Linked DNA regions of Homo sapiens: all the other regions are linked to region 3. The links are contacts of gene promoters, found by promoter capture Hi-C in blood cells and fetal thymus (Javierre and others, 2016). All regions are on one chromosome and are shown on one strand. The core of a region is centred on a gene start or on the middle of the fragment in contact, and the rest is flanking DNA. Distances in the headings are between cores, read along the strand shown.

Evidence for each region. The method cuts DNA at HindIII sites, captures the fragments that hold promoters and counts their contacts. A CHiCAGO score of 5 or more calls a contact.
Region 1: the fragment with the promoter of TFB1M here is called in contact with the fragment with the promoter of HSF2 in region 3 in 1 of 17 cell types (total CD4 T cells); the score reaches 5.2 in total CD4 T cells.
Region 2: a contact is called between the fragment with the promoter of ASCC3 here and the fragment with the promoter of HSF2 in region 3, in 3 of 17 cell types (non-activated CD4 T cells, activated CD4 T cells and total CD4 T cells). The highest score is 6.6, in non-activated CD4 T cells.

The regions. Positions count from the first base shown.
Region 1 is chr6:155,313,074-155,315,773 of GRCh38, forward strand. TFB1M (transcription factor B1, mitochondrial) reads right to left here and starts at 1,411. Exons shown (of 7, transcript NM_016020.4): 1 at 1,223-1,411. The coding sequence starts at 1,355. RefSeq lists enhancers at 1,186-1,505, 1,504-2,494, 1,576-1,625, 2,176-2,225 and a silencer at 1,676-1,755. The HindIII fragment of the contact is 4,007 bases long and covers 1-2,700 here.
Region 2 is chr6:100,879,890-100,882,589 of GRCh38, forward strand. ASCC3 (activating signal cointegrator 1 complex subunit 3) reads right to left here and starts at 1,440. Exons shown (of 42, transcript NM_006828.4): 1 at 1,172-1,440. LOC107984041 (a long non-coding RNA gene) reads left to right here and starts at 1,568. Exons shown (of 8, transcript XR_007059692.1): 1 at 1,568-1,765. RefSeq lists an enhancer at 1,284-1,403. The HindIII fragment of the contact is 1,558 bases long and covers 363-1,920 here.
Region 3 is chr6:122,398,212-122,400,911 of GRCh38, forward strand. HSF2 (heat shock transcription factor 2) reads left to right here and starts at 1,441. Exons shown (of 13, transcript NM_004506.4): 1 at 1,441-1,619. The coding sequence starts at 1,527. RefSeq lists silencers at 1,177-1,496, 1,767-1,886 and an enhancer at 1,737-2,236. The HindIII fragment of the contact is 3,471 bases long and covers 1-2,700 here.

The DNA of each region.
Region 1 (2,700 bases), core at 161-2,660, about 33 Mb after region 3:
CCTGTCTTTACTAAAAACACAAAATTAGCTAGGCACGGTGGCTCACGCCTGTAATCCTAGCTACCTGGGAGGCTGAGGCACGAGAATCACTTGAACCGGGGAGGCGGAGGTTGCAGTGAGCTGAGATCATGCCATTGCACTCCAGCTTGGGCAACAAGAGTGAAACTCCATCTTAAAAAAAGAAAAAAAAAAAAAAGAGAAAACTTGAGTTAAATTATTTTATCCAAAGTCATATTGGTACAGGCAGAATAAAGACTACATGTCCAAGAAATAAAACATTTTATGTTTTCTGGAGTGTGCTTCATTTAAGTGAAAATGAACTTTTTGGGTGTGATTTACTGCTCTTTTCAACTTCTGAAGTGGGACTAAATAGAATGAAATATGAAAATCTCAAAACCTAAGTACTCCAGCCGTGACTTAGTAGACGTATTTGTAATATATTTTTGCAACCTCATCTCATAGAACATCACTAAGCAATGGTGATGGTGGTTAAACCAATATATAAATACATTCGTCAAAACTCATCAAATTGAGCACTTCAAACTTATTAATTTTATTGCACATAAATTATATCTCATAAAAAGTAACTTTAAACAATTAGGTGTGGGAATGTAAACTTGCTAAAAGTAAGCTCCTCGAGGAAACACCGCCTTGTTCACGCCCATATCCTACCCCCGGCACTAGCACAATGTTGCTTGTGTAATATGTACTTATGAATGAATATTAGCGCCCCCGAGGCTTAGACTGAACAGGTAAACGTTTAAAAAACGAATCATACGAGGGATACTCTTTTCACCAAGTTATTGATAAAATCCTCGCATCAATTTAAATTCTGGTAACTTTAAACTGCATGTAAAGCAACTGCAGTCAGCATGTGCTGTACTATTTCAGAATGATTGATTTCACAGTGACCCAGATTCCAATATTCACTAGCGCCTTTCACGACCCATGAACCCTTCCTCCCCTAGGGAGCTTGGCATTTATGCAGCCTGCCGGCAGGCTACACCCCCCCGAACGCGGAGTTTTGTGAGCAATCAACGCACTTCACGTGTCTCCTGGGCGGTGGGACCGGAGTTCTGATACAAAGAGGTCGAAGGACCTGACCAAAAGCCCGTCGCACGCCAGTGCCTGGACACCCGCCCGCGGGGACGTGCAAGACCCCCCGGCCCACGCCCCCACGGACACTGGGGAGACATCCGGGGAGCACTGCTAAGCCATCCACCTGTCAGCCTCAAGTCCAGGAGGAAATTCTGTGATAGCTGCTTCGCTGCTTGCAGTCTTAACAACTTAATGATTTCTCGAATCGTGGGCAACGGAGGGAGACGGCAAGTGCTGAGTTTTCCGGAGGCAGCCATGATACGCGGCAAGCACCATCCAACCCTACCTCACCCAGGACCTTCACCGCCGCTCCGAAAGAAACGCGCAGGGGAGGAACCTGCGAGACCTAAGGCCCGCCTCGGAGTCAGCCCCATTGGTCAGACCTATCCCACCGGAAGCGATGACCGCGGACAGGAAATTCCCGGCGTGCTGAGAGCGCATGCGCTAAGTCCTGCCGCGAGAAGGGCAGGCTGGGTGGTCGGCGGCTTCCGCCTGTGAGAGCCGGGGGAGAGCCGGGTGGACTAGGCTTCTCCTGGGCGGGCTATGGGGAGAGCGCCCAGGAGGGCGGGACGAGGCGGGGCCTGGACAGGGTGGGGTTTTTCGGAGGAGTTGCTCTGAGAGGTGCAGCCGGTTTACTCCCGCCCTGAAGTTCCCAAGGGCTTCCGGCTCTTTAACGTTCTAAATACCTGTCTGTGAATATTAGAGGAAAAGCGGGTGCTTAGAGGCAAAGCTACTGTTTGTTAGCAATTCTTTCTTACTGTGAGGCGTTTTTAGAACCGCCGCTCTGCAGATGCTGCATGATGGGTTTTTAACTTCGTTCAGCCTCAGTTTTTTCATCAGTTAAATGGAGCTAATGTCTACCTCAAAATTGTGAGCACTAAATGAGAGAGATCGCCTGGTGTGCACGTTCAGAACATAGTGCACGCATGGCATTGGGTAAGCTCCCACGTGATCAGTGGTGGCTGTTATTATTTGGCAGATGAATAATTGGCCAGTGTAAAGAGGTCATTCGATTTGCTAGGATTACAGCTAAGAACAGAGAGAAGACTGAAATATGAGTTCTGTCTTTCCGTTATACGAGATAAAAACAACGAAGCAAAAAAAAAAAAAAATTAAAGTTTCTCTGATAGGTGGGAGAATTTTGCTGTTTTAACCCTGCTTATGTTTGGACATTGCTGCGTTGATCACAAATGAATTTTAAAGTTTCTGTTCCTCAATTAGTAAGTTTTTAAAAAAGCTAATGGAAAACGAAACAACTATGGGTATGGATATAAAAATGAGGAGTACTTTGAAATTCCAGTGGAAAACTCAACCACCTTCTATAAAAGCTGTTTTAAAAGGAACTGAGATAATCTCCTAGCTTTAAAAAATAGTGATGACTACCATAGAGGTAAGGAGATTTGCCCAACGTGGCATCAAAATGTAGACTGGAAGTACAAACTCTTGATTCAGATATCTTATCGTCCAAAACACAGTATACCTGACAAAGCATTATTTCACAGTTATATTCATTATTTCCCGTACTCCTCACAATGGTCCCATGTGAATGAGATTATTATTCTTAGTTTGCTGTGAAGAAATAGGGGAGGTGAGGTCATTTGA
Region 2 (2,700 bases), core at 190-2,689, about 22 Mb before region 3:
GCTTTGTTTTGGTTAACTACAGATCCATGGCATGAGAAAGAACCCTAGTCAAGATTCTGTCTTAAAAGGAGGCTGCTGGATTATAGAAAGTTCATGAGCACAGAGACTGTCTCTCTCTTGCTCTCCTAGGCCTAGCCCAGCGTTTGACACATAGGAAGACTTGAATGAATGAATGACAAAAAACTGTTAAGCAGGGATCAAGAAAGCTGAACCATGAAAAATTAATTTCTCATATAAATAGGATTATTTAGCCTAAGCTTAAGAGCATCTTTAAGGATCATTTTTCTCATGCAAGACTATTATAACCATCATTAAAAAAAAGAGACAACATAAACTGGAGCACAATCCATAGTAAAACCAAAAGCTTAATTCTCAACATTTGAGAACTTTGAGAATCAGAAAAAGGATTTCAATCTATGAAACATAAAATCTGGTGATGGAGAAAATGGCTGTCAATCTCACCTAACCTAGGGAAAGAAAGAAAATGTAACCATGAGTTTGAATGCACAAGTGACAACACATCAAACTTTTACCAGCCCCTAGAATTATGCTTCTTTTAAACCAAAGAATAGCAAATACCATTAGCACACTGCATTCCATGAGTAAGTTAATTTATAAGAAACCTATTTGAAATGACTGCCCAGTACTCACAAAACCTCCCTAGCACCCACATACACATTTATTTATTTCAAAATGACATTATAGGCTCCTTGATTGCGAAATTCACCCACAATCCATCACGGTCAGCTACCTATTTACTTTCCAGTGTGTTGGGGGAAAAATATGAGGAAGATTTCTTTCCCCAAATCTACGTGAAGAAAACGAAGTTATCAAGGCTTTGTAACAGAAAAAAAGAAAACAAATTACCCATGCATGGGACAGAAAAACCTCATCTGGTCACGTTGTGGCTTAACACTTGGACAATATGTAGCTTAGGTTAAGTTTTCTATCCCCAACCCCACCTACAAACTCTAGGAATGGGCGGTATTGTTGCGAGACCCCGGACTCGACCTCATGCCACTGAAAAGGATGACAGGTCGGGACTTGCCCCGGAGGCAGGAAGAGAATCTCTGGCGGGTCGCGTAGCCCGCCTCGCCGTCCCCGCCTCCAGCCAGCTCCCCTGGCCGCGGCGACCCTTCTCGTCCTCCCACCTCCACCTCCACCTCCTCACCTCTCGGCCTGGCTCACGCGTTTCCCATCACTCTGTCAGCTCCTGCCACCGCGCCTTCTTCCCTTTCGGTTTTACTTTAACTTCCCACGCCGGGTGAGGAGCTGAGCGCAGGGCCAAAGATGCGAGCGGGCAGCTGTATCGCCGCGCCCCGTCCGCCCTCCAAGCCGCGCTTGCCGGGGTCGCGCCCAGTCACAGGGAACCGCGTGTGAGGACCATCAGTCAGACAGACAGACGCAAAGACGCACAGACCCGGCGAGGAGGGACAGAGTGGAGCTGGCGCCGGCCTACACGTCACCGCCCCGCTGCAGCGCCAACGTCGGCACGTCGACTCGTCGACTCCGGGCCCTCTGCCCCGCCCGCGTGCGCGCGCCGCTCCGCCTCCCGCCTCCAGCCTCTAGTCCGCTGGGTTCGGAGGAGCAGAGGCGGAAGGTCCCGGCGGCGGCGAGGATGCGCCCCAGGGCGGGAGCGGGACGCTCCACTTTACCCTGGCTGCCCGCAACGGGCCAGGCCTGCCGTCTCTACCTCTCTACCTGTGAGTTTTTTCCCTGCATTTACTTCAGTCTGCCGCGTCTTCTCCCCGCCCTTCTCTGTAAGGTAAATATGTGGAGGAAATAATTCCTATTAAAGGTAAAGGAAAGGAGAGCAATTTGAATGAAGAAACAGGTAGTTGCTATCGTCGTTTTCAGCCAAAGCCCTCTGGCTGCTAGAGAGTATACATGGTTCTCTGGTGTCAAGGCCTGTTTTCCATAAGCTTTCTGGATTCTCAGCTTAGTTCCCTCAAAGTGATCTCTGCAAGTCGGCTCTTCGGTCAGAAGACCTCCTCCAAAAACAGAAAGCCCAAAGATTCCCTAACTCGATTGAAAAGATAGGAAGATACGAAGAAAAACTAACCTAAAGAATTGTGTGGTTTATCTGCAAAGAGTTCTAGACTAAAAGCCAACAATGCAAAGATAGTATGAGTTAATATGTTTGTTGTGGCTCTCTTCTGCCATTCCCGCTTCCTCAAGGTAATGTGCCCCGATGCCTGGTAGAACTGTTTTGTAGAGGCAGCCAATAGTGATCCAGTTATTGTCTTTACTGGTCAGACCACCTCTGAAGTGCTGTGTTCAGCATTTGAAGACTTTAATCAAGCTGGCATTATATCAGGGAAGAGCAAAATGATGACGAGAACTCAAAAACAGGGCAAGTGAAGAAGGATTGATTAAACCTTCCAGGACTCACCTAGAAGAGAGAAAACTACTGGACTCTCTCCAAATATGAAATGACCTATCATGTGAAGTTGATTTGTTTCATGTGATGCAAACTTCAGGGAACAGATTTAAGATCCTGAAAAGAAGATGCCCTTGTAGCACGACCCAAAGAATTGCCTACCTTAGCATGTGTGAATACCTCAACCACAGAATTTTGCTTCAAGGAGATTCTGAAGCTCACTTAATAGGGACTTGGTACAGGGGAGCCACACATCAACAGAATAATTAGTTGATGGTTTTGTTAAAGATATTTCCAGTCTTGAGATTACATGTGTCTTT
Region 3 (2,700 bases), core at 191-2,690:
ACTGAAGAAATTAATCAACTTTTGAGTCTCAGAATCTTCTCTGGGAAAATGGGATAATAAAACCTAGTTCATTGGGTTGTTGTGAGGATTCAATAATATATGTAAAGCCCTTGGCATATATAAGGGCTCATCAAATATTACTTCCTCTATCACATGCATGCCTCCATATATCTGATTTTGCTTCAGCCAACATCCCAGTGCTGAGCACAAAGGCAGCATTCACTAAATACTTGCTCATTGGAAGAGATATACATATATCTTCCATTAAATGATAGATATATATTTAATGTACTATTTTACATTCACCCAAGAAGTAAACCAATCCTATGTTGAAGTTTTGTATGTTATCTCTGACTTGTTTGTAAGTTTTTGCCTTCACATGCTGACTTTTGTAAAAAAAAAAAGTCGAATTTTGTAGACTTCATATTTTCAAAGCATTTGCACAGCCATTATAGTATTAAAGACACTCTTAGTGGGTAAAAAGATAGATCTTATTCCCAGTCAAGAAATGGAAAAAACTGGCACTGGTGGCTAAGGAATTGTTCTAAATGACAGAACCAGTGTATTTTAATATACAGAAAAATGTCCAAGAGGCTTTATCTAAACTGAGATCTACTGACTCCTTTTCCATTGTTTTTTCCACTATACCAATCTCTTAGGCAAAAAAGACTATATCTGTAAAGTATACGCAGGAAAAACTATTTTAATTAACTAAAATAGTACAAATGAGTCTATTTCTTTTTATTCTGGGTACAGAGTAGGCACTTGATGACTGGATTAAAAACAGCACATGATATATCAATTGCAGTTCCTGGTTTACAGTTTTAAGTAATCGAGAGTGAGTTATTTAAACTGCTCTTTTTGATAAACATATTTTAAAGAGGGCTTTTTCTCCCAATGAAAATGTAAGAACAAGTTTCATTATTTTTAAGACAATTTCAATTTGGGGCCTAGCACATCATGCTTGAGAGCTGGTTTTTTCCTTATGCAAATGGATCCTTTCTCTAAACTGGTGCAAACCACACTTTGCCTGCCAAACTTATGACTCAAAGGCCCTGAAGGGTTTCTGTAGCCTCCCAGCCACAGCCCAGAAACCATAAGCTGTTTCCACGTGAAACATCCAAACACGGTCTCCCAAGCCTAAGTCTGCTACCATCAAGGCTTCTGTATAAAAGGCAAATGAGGAGGCAGCGCCCCCTTCTGCTCCCACCCCCTTCTGCTCCCACCCCCTTCATGTCAGCAGCAGCCAATCGCTTTTCTCTGTCGTGCAGTCGGCTCCTGGGATTGGCCAGGGACGGGACAGGCGCGGAACCACTGCGCGCACAGGCGGAGCGCGGAGACTTGTCCGTCACGTGCGGCCGCCCGGCCTCTCGGCCTTGCCGCGCGCCTGGCGGGGTTGGGGGGGCGGGGACCAAGATCTGCTGCGCCTGCGTTGTGGGCGTTCTCGGGGAGCTGCTGCCGTAGCTGCCGCCGCCGCTACCACCGCGTTCGGGTGTAGAATTTGGAATCCCTGCGCCGCGTTAACAATGAAGCAGAGTTCGAACGTGCCGGCTTTCCTCAGCAAGCTGTGGACGCTTGTGGAGGAAACCCACACTAACGAGTTCATCACCTGGAGCCAGGTACGGTCAGGCCACGGCGGCCTCTGAACCCCCTGAATAACCGCCTCCTCACTCGCTCTCCTGCGGGGTGGTCTCTCGCGGCCTTGCGGCTCGACGCTGTCTGCGAGGCCCGCGGTGCGGGGCCTTGGCGTTCAGCCTCGCGGGGGACCCCCTGTATTGTTCGCTCGGGGAGCCGCGGGGGCCCGGCCGGCAGCGCCGCTCTCCTCAGGCCGCGGTGGGGGAGGGGCGGCCCGCGCGGGGCGTAGCGGCCCAGGCAGCCCCTTAACGGTCCGGTCCGCGTTCGGAACCGGCCCGGCGTCGCGAGGGGAATCGGCGAGCCGAGGGCGCGGGAGCCTCTTTACTGCACACTCATCCTCCGTCCTCCCGCCCGGCTCAGGGGTTACAAATCGCGGAGGGGACAGGGAGCCCAGGGCCAGGATCATCAACGTGGGGCTTTATAGGAGGCGATCTTTACCTCAGCGACCGATCACCCCCAGTTCCCCCAACATTGCTTTGCATCTGGCATCTTTATGTGGAGAGCAGTCAGGGCAATAGACATACGTTCAAACGCAGGTTACTGCTTATCAGTTGGTTTTAAAAATATATAGAAATTAACAAATTATTCTTTTGAGATTCTGTGCTATTTGTATAATGGGATTATTAGGATTGTTTTAATAAAGTACTAATAGGTGGTAACTTAGTAGTTACTAAATTTCGCTGAACAGTTACCAGCAGAGGGGCATATCGATGTGTTGATTATTGGTTTGATCTCAACTCTGCTTCTAAACAAGCATGACCTTAGTCCAGCCCTTTATCTTGTCTGGCCTAAGTTAAATCTTTCATAAGATGGATGGGTTGCCTAGGTGACCCAAGACCTATATCAGTCCCAAATACAAGATTTTAGGCAGAATGATTATTTACATCCACAGTGCATGTGCATTAGAATACACTCCTAGGCTGTTGGAATCATTTTTATGAAGGAAAGTGGTTAACTCTTATTGTAGATGATCACCTATTGAGGCATATTTTCATATGTGTAGTTCTTGAGAAGAATAAGTGAAAACTACCTGCATAGTGCCTGGCACCTGTTAAGTGCTGAGTA